2 separate regions of the Homo sapiens genome follow, and region 1 is linked to region 2. The links are contacts of gene promoters, found by promoter capture Hi-C in blood cells and fetal thymus (Javierre and others, 2016). All regions are on one chromosome and are shown on one strand. The core of a region is centred on a gene start or on the middle of the fragment in contact, and the rest is flanking DNA. Distances in the headings are between cores, read along the strand shown. Region 1 overlaps SPATA6L (spermatogenesis associated 6 like). Region 2 holds the start of RIC1 (RIC1 partner of RAB6A GEF complex).

Evidence for each region. The method cuts DNA at HindIII sites, captures the fragments that hold promoters and counts their contacts. A CHiCAGO score of 5 or more calls a contact.
Region 1: a fragment that was not itself captured here is called in contact with the fragment with the promoter of RIC1 in region 2 in 1 of 17 cell types (fetal thymus); the score reaches 7.8 in fetal thymus.

What each region holds. Positions count from the first base shown.
Region 1 is chr9:4,595,014-4,601,220 of GRCh38, forward strand. It overlaps SPATA6L (spermatogenesis associated 6 like), which reads right to left. Exons shown (of 12, transcript NM_001353486.2): 12 at 3,303-5,796. Among named protein-coding and RNA genes, the nearest start is that of PLPP6, 64 kb to the right of the region's middle. The HindIII fragment of the contact is 1,919 bases long and covers 3,860-5,778 here.
Region 2 is chr9:5,624,038-5,630,646 of GRCh38, forward strand. RIC1 (RIC1 partner of RAB6A GEF complex) reads left to right here and starts at 5,070. Exons shown (of 26, transcript NM_020829.4): 1 at 5,070-5,416. The coding sequence starts at 5,273. It overlaps INCR1 (interferon stimulated noncoding RNA 1), which reads right to left and starts at 5,690. Exons shown (of 3, transcript XR_007061406.1): 1 at 5,530-5,690. RefSeq lists enhancers at 3,260-3,479, 5,390-5,890 and a silencer at 4,830-5,369. The HindIII fragment of the contact is 4,913 bases long and covers 3,052-6,609 here.

The DNA of each region.
Region 1 (6,207 bases), core at 3,569-6,068, 1.0 Mb before region 2:
CATTTGAGCTCCTATTTTGTTCTCTTAGTCGTTGAGTTCATCTTGCCTCACACATCATGAAGAATATGAATCCACAAAATGAAGGACACTGTGTCCTTATTTCTGCAGGGCAATTATTCTCTCCATCAATACCTCATTCTGCTGACTAAGTAGTTCACCTTCACTTTGTAACAAGCCCAGGCCACCGGACTTAACCACTTCTTCCTTAAAAGGGCCAGGTACCTCCCCCATACACCCACAGGTTTTTAAGCACCCCTAAAATAAGTTGTCTCATGATGTCTTCCCAGCCCTGATGTCTAATCAGCCCTTCTCTTTCCTGTGACTCTCCTACTCAGTTGAGGTTCTATTGCCCTAATTTTCAGACTTCTTCAAAGGCTTTGTCAGAGTCTCCCCACCGCCAGCCTCTACCTACTCCCAAACCATCCTGCACAAGATCATCAGATTAATACTTTGCTTTCTGGCTCCAAAACTCTAACGGCTTCTTATTGTCTACAGCACAAGTTGAAAATACTCGCCTGAATATTTAGGACACTTCAGAAGATACCCCAAAGGACATTTCCTCTTCTCTATATACATATGCTTCATTATACTCTCCCCAGTTGCCTCACTCTCCCAAATCTCTTCTCTACCTGGTCTGCCTATTTTTTAAATGCTGAAAATAAGTTCTGGGCCTCCAACACCAATACCCCACTGTTTCTAACCTCCTGAAACATACAGAAGCAACAGTATCTTGGTACATAATCAGATACTGCCTTATATTATTAAGTTAATCAATATGAGACGATTATAAAGTAATGAAATTGAGTTCCACAAACCTCACTGTAAATCAATACCATTATTTTATACTACTAAACAGGAGTCAAAACTGGTGGCTTTGGGCAAGACCCAGCTTCAGACCAGCTTTATGTGGGCCACAGAGCCTTTGGCTGGTTTAGATTTGAATTTGAAGATGAACACCTTGTGGGAGGATGGGGTGTTACATGCTCCACTTCACTCCAGCTCCCATCACTCACCATTATTTCAAACTCAACTGCTTCTGACAGTCACAAATCCTGCCTGGTCCTAAAGACATCCGAGTTTGCAACACCTTTTGGGAATCACACTTGAAATATCTCGTTTAAGGTCTCATTGCCCCAGTAAGTATGGAAACTTCAAGAGGGCACGGGTTGAATTTTACACCCCTTAGTGTGACCCCTCCCGACCCCACAGGGTCCTGCGCAATACTGAGCACACAGAAGGAGTTTAACAAATACAAGTTGAGTGGGTCCATGCGAGGCTGTGGGATCAATTTTGTTAACTGCAGGGCTGGGAGGAGACCCAGTGAACAAAGGACGTCATCCTATCCCTTAAGCAACAACAAATGAGCTTTCATAATGAAGAGTTCCCACCATGAATGCAACGCTTCCAGCAATAACACCTACTGCCACTGCCTACGGTCTGTTCCTGGAAGTCATCCCAATAAAACAAGTATGATGTTTATCTCAGTTCAAAATTCCAATTTCAGTGAGTGTCCGTTCCTGGAGAAAAAGGAACAGGAAAGTTTATTTGGGGGTGGTGGGGAGGAGGGGACTTCCTAAAAATGCCGTTTACAAACATAACATTTCAATGACAGGAAATACGAGCAGAAAGCCTCTCTTGTTGGCCTAAACAAGAAGTGGTTAATTGTTCCAACTTCTGTCAAGAGACCTTAGTTGCTCTGTTATTCTGAAATGTTCTGAGTTCATGTTTTTCAAACCCTTTAAGTTGAATTATCTGTGATGCCTCAGGGCCAACCAGGTGGCAGCAAAGGGGTGACAGGAAGTGGTACAGAGAACCTGAGGTTTGGAAACAAGACAGAGCAGGGTTTGCAAACTGGCTCTGACGCTTGCTTTTCTGAGCCTCAGTGTCCTTAGCAAGAAATAGGGGGAGCAATGCTTTCCTCAAAAAATTAAATGAGATGAGAATAAGAATAGCTAATGCTCACTGAGTGCTCATTTTGTGCCAGGCACTGATTTAATGTACTTTAAATGTATTATCTACCAACAATAACATTATTAGACAGATACTATTATTACCTCCATATTATACATAAGGACATTGAGACACAAAGAGGTTAAATTATCTGTCCAAGGCACTCAGCCTGTAAATGGCAGAACTAGGATTTAAATCCAGGTACTCGGAGGGGCGCAGTGGCTCATACCTGTAAGCCTAGCATTTTGGGAGGCCGAGGCGGCAGATCACTTGAGGCCAGGAGTTCAAGACCAGCCTGGTCAATATAGGGAGACTCCTTCTCTATTTTTTATATATATAAAAAAAGAAAACAAAATACACACACACACACACACACACACACACACACACACACACACACACACACGGTGGGGCGTGGGGGGTGAGGTGGGCGGAGCTAATGGATCACTCTAAAAGACGCAGAATCCCAAGGAAAAATTTTGGACTAGAAACTCCTCATTTTGTTGAAGAAGCTCCATCAACTCAGCCATCAAGAAAAGGACCCATCTGCACCATGTAAAAGCTCCTGTCCTAGACATGACCCTGTTTTGACCAAATTCCCTATGTGAAATTAAGCATAGGTTCTTTCCTTTGATAAACAAAGTAACTTCATTGCCATAATTTGGTGCCCCTAGATTCAGTGTGGAGGATGGGGCTCCCAGGCCAAAGGAGCAAAGGGTTGGGGCTCTCATCACTGTTGGCAGGGTTCCCAGCACAAGGGAAGAGAGAAGAGGTCTCCCTAAGACCTGCAGGTCCGCTAAGTAGTGCTAGGAGGGGTCCCCTAACCAGAGAAAGACAGCAGTCCCATCCGGTGGTACTAGTGGGTTCTCTGGTCACAGCATGGACTACAGAGCATATCCTGTTCCTCAGGCTGCCCTCCAGAGAGCCCAGCGGGCTCCTTTGATGGACCAACTCAGGGGAGTACTGGCTATACTGAGAGTAGCCTGGCATTTGGGTGCTAGGGCTGAACTCACACACATACCCATCAGTCTTCTCAAATTACACCTAAAACCCGCCACCTCTTTTATGTCAAACATATCATTTGCACTCTCATTTTTTAAAAATCTCTTTTATAATTCATGGCCTACAGGCTTCAGCTAACTTTGGGTCAGTCAGGTGACCACAGAGAACTGGCCTCATTGTACAGCAGCTTTTGTTTGGAGGGCCTAGGTTCCACAAAGGAGATTTTCTTAGGAGCCTCTGCAAACCAAGACCCCATGAAACATGCCCATAAAATATGCTCCAGGCTTTGACAGATCTGCAACCATAAAAATCAAGAAAGGAATTATAAACTGAAGCAAGACAGATGGGAATTCTTTTTATGATGTTTAATGACACAGATCTTCCCAAAGTAATCCAAACCCCAAAACATCACAAAATTATTCATACTATTATACACTCCAAAAGCAAAATACTTCAACTGCAATCCTTGCCCCAGCATGATTCCTCAAAATTGAGATAACTCCTTGAGAAACAAAAGTAAAAATAATAATAATTTAAGGAATAGAGTTAATAGATGCAAAAGTAAAGGGAAAAAAAGCGTAATTTAGTGTGAAAACCAAAAATGACTTTAAATAAGAATGGGCATTTAAGATCTTATTAAAGAGTTATGCTTAAACCATTTCAAAAAACACTGAATATTGAATGTCATGGTGTATATTTTAACAATAACTGAAATGGGATACCAATTCATTAGTGCTGCTTTCCTTTAGCTGCTTACGTAAGCAGCCCTCTCCTGAGACTTATAGCGTAACCTTAATGTAACACAATATTTTCTTACTTTTGATGACTACTTAGAGGTAACATCAAAACAACAAATTGACAACCATAGTTTCAGAGAGACTGAGAACATATTAGCATATGTAATTTAAGCTTGCTGTTGGCCTTGCCAAGGTGGAATGCTGGTTGTGATACAGGTTGAGTCTCCCTTATCTTCAGTGCTTGGGACTGACCAGAAGTATTTTAAACTTGGGTTTTGGTTTTTGTTTTTGTATTTTGGAATATTTACATAAACACAATGAAGTATCTTCAGGATAGGGGATAGGACCCAAGTCTAAACACGAAATTCATTTACGTTTTATATACACTTTATACAGGTAGCCTGAAGGTAATTTTATACATGATTTTAAATAATTTGGAGCATGAAACAAAGTTTCGAATGCATTTGACTGCACCCTGCCACATGCAGTCAGATGTGGAATTTTTCACTTATGGTGTTATATTGGTGCTCAAAAAGTTTTGGATTTTGGAGCATTTCAGATTTCAGATTTTTAGATTGGGAGGTTCAACTTGGATATACCTTTATTTGGCTGAAATTCTAAGAAGAGGATAAATGAATTTTGTTTTGTTGTTTTTGTTTTTGGAGTTCCTTTTCTGTTTTAATTTTTAATTTCATTTTCTTAATTTACCTAATGAACCAATCCCTATGATTACAGTGAGAAAAGAAAACTTGGCTCTCACTGAATCTTCTAAAAACTGAACAAGTTTTAGGGTAGTGTCTTACTCTATTCAGGCTGCTATAACAAAATGTCATAAACTGGGTAGCTTACAAACTACAGGAATTCATTTCTCACAGTTCTGGAAGCTGGGAAGTCCAAGATCAGAATGTTGGCAGATGCAGAATCTGGTGAGGGCCCTCTTCCTGGGTCAGAGATGGCGCCTTCTCGCTGTCTCCTCGCCAGTGGAAGGGGCAAACGAGCTCCCTTGAGCCTATTTATAGGGCACTAATCTCATTTATGAGGGGTCCACCCTCACAACCTCATCACCTCCCAAAAGGCCCCATTTCCTTAGAGGTTAGGATTTCAACATACAAATGTTGAGGGGACACAAACATTCACACTATAGTAGGGCTGGTAGAGGAAAATGCTATGCTTACACTATGAAGGAGGGAAATAAGTTTCCATTTTCAGGCCCCTCTTCTCTGGGTCTGTATCAATGAAGACAAATGTGCCTCTAGTCTCCCTTTATCCCAGCCCCTTCCTATTCCTGCTCCCTCACACTGTGTAAGCATTTCATAGATGCACCTTCCTAACTAACTTTAAAACCTGGCATTGGCAGTCCTATCTGTAGAACCTATTTACTTAATGTGTAGTTCTTTTGGAGAAATATTTGAGGAAGGTTTTGTTCCTCATCTAAATTTACAAAGAATTGCTGGAACGAAGGAGTAGGAAACAGAAGGAGCAGTTTAAACTACGCTCCAGAGGAGCCAGCCTCCTCTTACAAATTTATCACAGACATTCAACATCTAAAACAAGATCTGAACTACCCAGACGTAATGCTCTCTTTTCCAAGGTTTTTAGTGGACTTCACGTAAATCAAGCCTAACACTAAGAAATAAACAAACAACAACAAAAACGGATCTACCGAAAAGAGAAAGTCAGGTTGATAGTCTTTCCTGGAGGATTTATCAGGTTATTCCTGTGAATAGCAACTTCCTCTAGCTCATATATAATTAATTTGAGAGAGAGAGACAGAGAGAGCCAGAGAGAGCCAGAGAGAGAGAGAGGGGAAGTGTTCAGATAAGCACCTGCCACCCAACTACAGCGCTTTCTCTTTCATGTTCAAAACAAACATGCAAAAACACAAATTTTCCAGCTTGACAAGAAAATGTTAGCCCCCAAACAGCAAACACTTTAATCAACAACTCTTACCTGGGCACAAAAGACTGAGTACAGGGTTTGGTTTAAAGGGGATTAGACATCAGTGACTCAACACAGACAACAAAAAGTGTTCATTTCTTTAAGGATGCTTCAATTGTCTCAGTGAGTGAGCTCTTCATGATTCTCCTTAAGCTTTCATTAATTTCCCCTGCAAAATTTGAAACATCACATTCTACATGTGGTATTGAGAAAAAGGCAAACAATCAATACAAGTAAGGAGAAAAAGATAATGTCATACTACCCCAATCTTGGCATGTAGCTATGCCTTGGGATCACTTAGTCTCTGAGCTTTTTCCCCAGATTCCCACAACAGAATAACCCAGTGAGCATCTGTGTGACCTTGGACAATTTACTTGACGTCTTTGTAAAATATCAGGATGATGACAGAGTATCTACCTCTTACTATTATAGTGAAGAGTTAGCATTGCTACATAGTAAATGTGCCAAAATAGGTGTTATTCAGTTGAGCTGTTAAACGTGTTCCAATTAACTATATTCTACTGAACAAATTTCCTTCCTTCCTTCCCTTCCCTCCTTCCTCCCTTCCTTCCTTCCCTCC
Region 2 (6,609 bases), core at 3,820-6,319:
CTTGCCTCCCTTAGGCTTCACAGAATTGAAGAGAGCTAGGGCACTGCTCTGGCCTAGGCTTTGGCTTAAGGGAATGCTTTTTAAAAACTGGTTTTTGCTTCATTTTAGAGACAGGGTCTCACTCTATCACCCAGGCTAGAGTGCAGTGGCGCAGATAGCTCATTGTAATCTGGAACTCCCAGGCTCAAGTGATCCCCGTCTCAGCCTCCCAAGTAGCTAGGACTACAGGTGCACACCATCATACCCAGCTAATTAAAACATTTTTTTTTAAAGAAATGGGGTCTTGCTATATTGCTCAGGCTGGTCTCGAAGTCTTAGGCTCAAGTAATCCTCCTGTCTCAGCCTCCCACAGTGCTGGGATTAAGGCATGAGGCACTGCGTCTGGTTTAAGGGAATGTTGTAGCTTGCTTGATCTCCTACCCAGACCATTAAAACTTTCTCCAGGTCAGCAACAAGGCTGTTTTGTTTTATCATTCCTATGTTCTCCAAAGTGGTACTTTTACTTTCCTTTAAGAACTTTTTTTCCTTTGCATTCATAACTTGGCTAACTGGTACAAGAGGCCTAGCTTTTGGCCTATCTTTGCTTTCAATATGCCTTCCTCACTTAGTTTAATCATTTCTAGCTTTTTACTTAAAGTGAGAGACGGGGATTCTTTCTTTCACTTGAACACTTAGAGGCTACTGTTGGGTTACTAACAGGCCTAATTTCAATATTGTTGCATCTCAGGGGATAGGGAGGCCCAAAGAAAGGGAGAGAGACAGAGGAACTGCCAGTTGATGGAACAGTCAGAACACACATAACATTTATCGCTTAAGTTCTCCATCTTACATGGATGTGGTACATGACACCCCAAAACAATTACAATAGTTACAACAAAGACCACTGACCACAAATCATCATAACAGATATACTAATAATGAAAAAGTTTCAAATATTGAAAGAATTACCAAAATGTGATAAGAGCCATGAAGTGAGCATATGCTATTAGAAAAAATGGTGCCAATAGACTCACTCAACACAGGGTTACCACAAACCTTATATTAAAAAAAAAAATTGCACCAAATCATACTTCCATCAAGAGAGTATAAATGTATCCCCATTTCTTATGTGTACTCTTACCAACATTATTTCTAGTAATTTAAAAAGTTTATAAGTTTCATAGATGAAAACATGCACCTAGTAACTTTTTTTTTTTTTTTTGAGACAGGATTTCATTCCTTTCACTCAGGTGGGAGTGCAATAGCATGATCTTGGCTCACTATTACCTCTGCCTCCCAGGCTCAAGCAATTCTCCTGCCTTAGCCGCCTAAGGGGCTGGGACCACAGGTGTATGCCACAGTGCCGACTGATTTTTTGTAGAGACAGGGTTTCACCATGTTGCCCAGGCTGGTCTCAAACTCCCGGGCTCAAGTGATCCGCCCACCTCTGCCTCCGAAAGTGCTGGGATTACAGGCGTGATTACCCTGCCCGGCCCCCTACTAACTTTTATCATAAGCTTAATCTTAGAACAGAGTCCAAAAATTTTGACAGGAGTGGTGGTGGAAACTAGTAGAAAAAGGAGGAGAAGACCTAAGGCATGAGAACTGTCAGTATATTTTACAAAATAAAGTTAAAATATGATATTTGAAAGTTGAAGCCAGGCACGGCGGTTCACACCTGTTATCCCAGCACTTTGGGAGGCCGAGGCTGGTGGATCATTTGAGGCTAGGAGTTGGAGACTAGCCTGGCACATGATGAAACCCCATCTCTACTAAAAATACAAAAACTAGACAGGCGTGGTGGTGCATGCCTGTAGTCCCAGCTACTCAGGAGGCTGAGGCACAAGAATCACTTGAACCCGGGAGGCGGAGGTTGCAGTGAGCCAAGATTGCACCACTGCACTCCAGCCTGGGTGACAAAGCAATGCTCTGTCTCAAAAAAAAAAAAAAAAAGAAAGAAAGAAAAAGAAATGATGTTGAAAAATCCAGCCAATAACATTTTTGTCACAATAGGGGAACTCTCAAGTATAGGGTTTTGGAGAGTCAGATATTTCCTTTTCTCCCCGCCAGGGAGAAAGACCTAGAGGTTTCCCCCACTCCCTCTCACTGTCCAGAGCAATTACCACAATTTAGTTCAGCCTAAAGAGCATATGCTGTTGGAAAAACAGCAACAATAGACTTACTTGATGCAGGGATGCCATAAGCCTTAATTTTTTTTTTTTTTTTTGAGACAAAGTCTCACTCTGTTACCCAGCCTGGAGTGCAGTGGAGCGATCTCGGCTCACCGCAACCTCTGCCTCCCAGGTTCAAGCAATTCTCCTGCCTTATCCTCCAGAGTAGCTGGGATGACAGGTGCATATCACCATGCCTGGCTAATTTTTGTATTTTTTTTTTTTTAGCAGAAAGACAGGGTTTCACCATATTGGCCAGGCTGGTCTCAAACTCCCGACCTCATGATCCGCCTGCCTTGGCTTCCCAAAGTTTTGGGATTACAGGCATGAGCCACCGCGCCCAGCCAAACCTTAAATTTTTAAAAAAATCACACAGGAGGCTGGGTGCGGTGGCTCACGCCTGTAATCCCAGCACTTTGGGAGGCCGAGGTGAGCGGATCACCTGAGGTCGGGAGTTCCAGATCAGCCTGACCAACATGGAGAAACCTCGTCTCTACTAAAAATACAAAATTAGCCAGGCATGTTGGTGCATGCCTGTAATCCCAACTACTCCAGAGGCTGAGGCAGGAGAATTGCTTGAACCCAGGAGGTGGAGGCTGCAGTGAGCTGAGATGGCACCATTGCACGCCAGCCTGGGCAACAAGAGCGAAACTCCACCTCAAAAAAAAAAAAAAAGAAAGAAATCACACTGGATCTGTAGAAAGAACATCAGTTCTTTTCAGGCCATGTGAATTCAGGCACATCTACCACACCTGTCCTGTTTCCTCACTTGAGAAAGTGAGAATAACAACATCACACCAATGTCACTCACCTTGAATGTTTACTATGAATTAAATCAAGACAAGCATTTGGAATTATTTTGTGAATCTTAAGTGCTACACAGGAGTGTGGCAGAGGAATAAGCTTCTAAAGTCAGCAAGTAAGGTTAAAATTGAGTGCAATAAAAATTGCTTAGAAGTTCCTTAAATTGCCCATGAGCACAGTATGACAAACTTGAGACACATGAGAACAAAGACTCTCTGAGAGACAGCTGGGACAAACATTCAGTAACACTGCCAGCAAAATTGCTGCACTAGAACATTTTCATTTCCTCTTTCTGCCAAGTGCATAACTGAATCTAAGATGAAAGTATGATGCAACTTTGTTATTCTACAATTTGAAATTGGCAAGTTAAGAAACCTCTCTGGGCCTCTTTGTCTAATGGTGTAGCTCAGCTGGATCAGGGTTTCCTCCACGGTTTGTCTGACAAATACTGCCAGCTTACTATGCTTACTATGTTCCAGGCTGCTGTGTTGGACTGGGGGAGGGTAGACGCCAAGGAGACAATCTGATCGCAACAGGCTGGTGAGTGGTGAGGCAGTTTCAACCTCCATTTGAGGAATACAGGATTCTATCATCACCTTCCAGGGAATGCAGTGAATGTTTAGAAAAATTACAGAAAGTTACATATTTGGTTATGAATACCAGCTACAATGCTATATCTAATATGAATTAAGTTTCTTTGTTTCCTTTTTTCTGTTTATGTTGCTACTTTTTTTTTTTTTTTTGAGACAGTCTCACTCTGTTGCCCAGGCTGGAGTGCAGTGGAGGGATCTTGGTTTGCTGCAACTTCCGCCTCCCAGGTTCAAGCGATTCTCCTGCCTTAGCCTCCTGAGGAACTGGGATTACAGGCACCTGCCACCACGCCCAGCTAATTTTTGTATTTTCAGTAAGACGGGGGTTTCACGATGTTGGCCAGGCTGGTCTCGAACTGCTTACCTAAAGTGATCTGCCCGCCTCGGCCTCCCAAAATGCTGGGATTACAGGCGTGAGCCCCAGCACCCCGCCTACGTTGCTACTTTTTAATGTGGGGTCATTTTTTAAACCTGGCTTTTTAATTGAAAAAGTAATACAAACATATGGAAAAATTCAAACTGTACTAAAAAAGGTAGACAATGAGAAGCAAATCTTTCTTCTATTTCAGACTCCTCCTTCCCCCATTCCACACCATATCCCCTCAACCCTCCTTCTATTCAGACGTTACCACTGGGTCAATCCGTTGAAAGTTACAGCTAAGGTGATACCTGGGGTCCAAAAGCTAAATATGGACCTACGCTATCACCAGTCCCTTCCAGTTCTAAAACTAAGTCCAAGCCTTTTGCAGCACGAAAGAGATAGCCTCCTCTCATCTAAAGTTATGGCTGGTAAGGCTGAGACGAATGGAAATGGATTTCAAAGACATAGATTTAGAACTCCTGAAAGGCAGGAGACAGAACTCAATACTTTCATGGTGAGTGGTTTATTTACTGATTAAATAAACGCTCCCTTAGGGATGTAAGCTCCACACCGGCAGGAGCTTCATCACCAGCTCTCACTGCAGACCCCGGCATTAAAGGAGCTCACACGGTAAAAGCCCCTACCGCCCACCACAGCCACAGCGGCCGGCAGCCCAAAGTGGGAAACCGCGCCGGCCGTCACGTGACTCCAGCTCCCCCCGGCAACCGGCCCGCCCCCACCGAGACCCCGCCAATCCGGAAGGGAGGTCCAATTTGGCCAGGCCAGGGCGTGTTCCACCGGCCCAGTAGCCTTGCTGCTGCGTTATCCCTAGACTCGCCCCACTTGCCTCGGAGTCTCAGGCCGTTGCCTAGGTCCTCCCGGTAAAACCCTGGAGACTGCTAGGGAGAGGAGCAAGGGAGGGGCCAGCGCGCAGAAGTGCGGACGCAACCCGGCGGCCGCGGGCGAGGCTTATGCAGAGCTTCAAGAAACAGCTAGGGAGACCGCAGGAGTCTCCAGAGCGCGCGCGCGGGCCCTCCCCGGCCCGACCCACGCGGCGCGGCGTGGTGACGCCCGCGCGGCCTGAGGAAGGGGCGGGGTCGGGGCGGGCCTCCGCGCTCCTCCCGCCCTCTCTGTGTCCCTACTCTCCCTCCCCTTCCCTCCCCCACACTCGGCCCCGTCAGCTTGGGGGTGCCTTCGTCGCGCAGCCTTGCGTCGGCCCGGCCCGGCCAGGCCAGCGGGCAGATGCCCCGAGCTGCCGCCGCCGCCGCCGCCGACTCGGCCGGTGGCGGTGTGGGAGGTGGGCGACCAGCCCGGGGCCGCTGAGTGTGACGGACGCAACTGGGGGCGCCGGGGGCTCCGCACGGACCATGTATTTTCTGAGCGGCTGGCCCAAGAGGCTGCTGTGCCCTCTGGGGAGCCCGGCCGAGGCGCCTTTCCACGTTCAGTCCGACCCGCAGAGGGCTTTCTTCGCCGTGCTGGCCGCGGCCCGCCTCAGCATCTGGTACAGCCGAGTAAGTAGAGCCGCCCGCCGCCTTTCGCCGCTGCCTCCCCGGCCTCCCGGCGCCGTCCCACCCCCAACTTCCACCCAGAGCCTAGGACTCCTGCCCCTTCGTGCCAGACCCACCTGCCTTCGCAGTCCGCGTCCTCGTTCCACCGAATTGGCCGCAGGTACCCGCCGGCTGCAGGCACGTCCTCCAGCCGGCGGTCCGGGGTGGATGAAGTCGCTGCTGCCGAAAATCCCTGAGCCTCCCCGCGTTGGACCGACGGCCGCGGCGTGCAGACTCCGCACGCTCCCCGGCCGAGCCCAGACTTGTTCTTCTCTCCCTTCCCCCATTCCCCGAGGGACAAATTTGTTTAAACTTTCCACAATTAGAAATCCGGCCGCTGTGGTGCCCCAACCCTCCCTTACTTTAAAGGTCGCCGTTTTGGAGTTAGGGAAAGCCTCTTGGGCTTTACCCAGCGCCAGACTTTACAGGCCTGTAATAACTTATTTCTACAAACTACAGCCTGAATTCTTTATTCTTCACTAAAGGTCTGGTTATTTAACTCCCCTCTTTAACCCCAACATCCCTTCCCCACTTTCGAGTTGGTCTTTTTCTTTGCTGCTGCTCTTGGACTCTTCGGAATAGGGGGTTAAAGGAGCGGAAGTAGAACTCAAATCTGTCCGCGGAACTCCCAGTTATAACACCTGGAAATAATAAGGCTTGGGAGGAGCATGGAACTGAATTCTGTTTTTGCTTTAAGTCCTGGTTATCTTTTTCTTTCTTGTATTGAATTACTGAGTAGATATGAGAAAGAAATAAGTGGTGGATGGGATACTCCCTACTCTCTGCAAACACTGCTATAACTTTGTCTATGAGAACGACAGAGTTCAGAGTATAAAAATGCTTTTTTTCCTCCCCAAAGAAGGCAGTACCAATCGATGTCAGAGTGAAGTTTTTCTCCTTTCCAAGTTAATTTGACCATGTGGGGATAGGTTGTGATCTTGTCCTTATTAGGTGTTCGTGAAATACTGGTTTTAGTTTGTTAAAATCCCCAAATCTTTGTGTGTTGCTGTTCCATTACCTGTAATGCCCTTGACAGTCCTCACCCACTTCCCTGGTAATACTGGTGATGGGATTTAGTGACGGGTAATTCTGGTGTCTCCTTTGACTGTCATAGTTGGGCTGTAAATCAGACTATTTGCCATCAAGTTTTGGCTGAT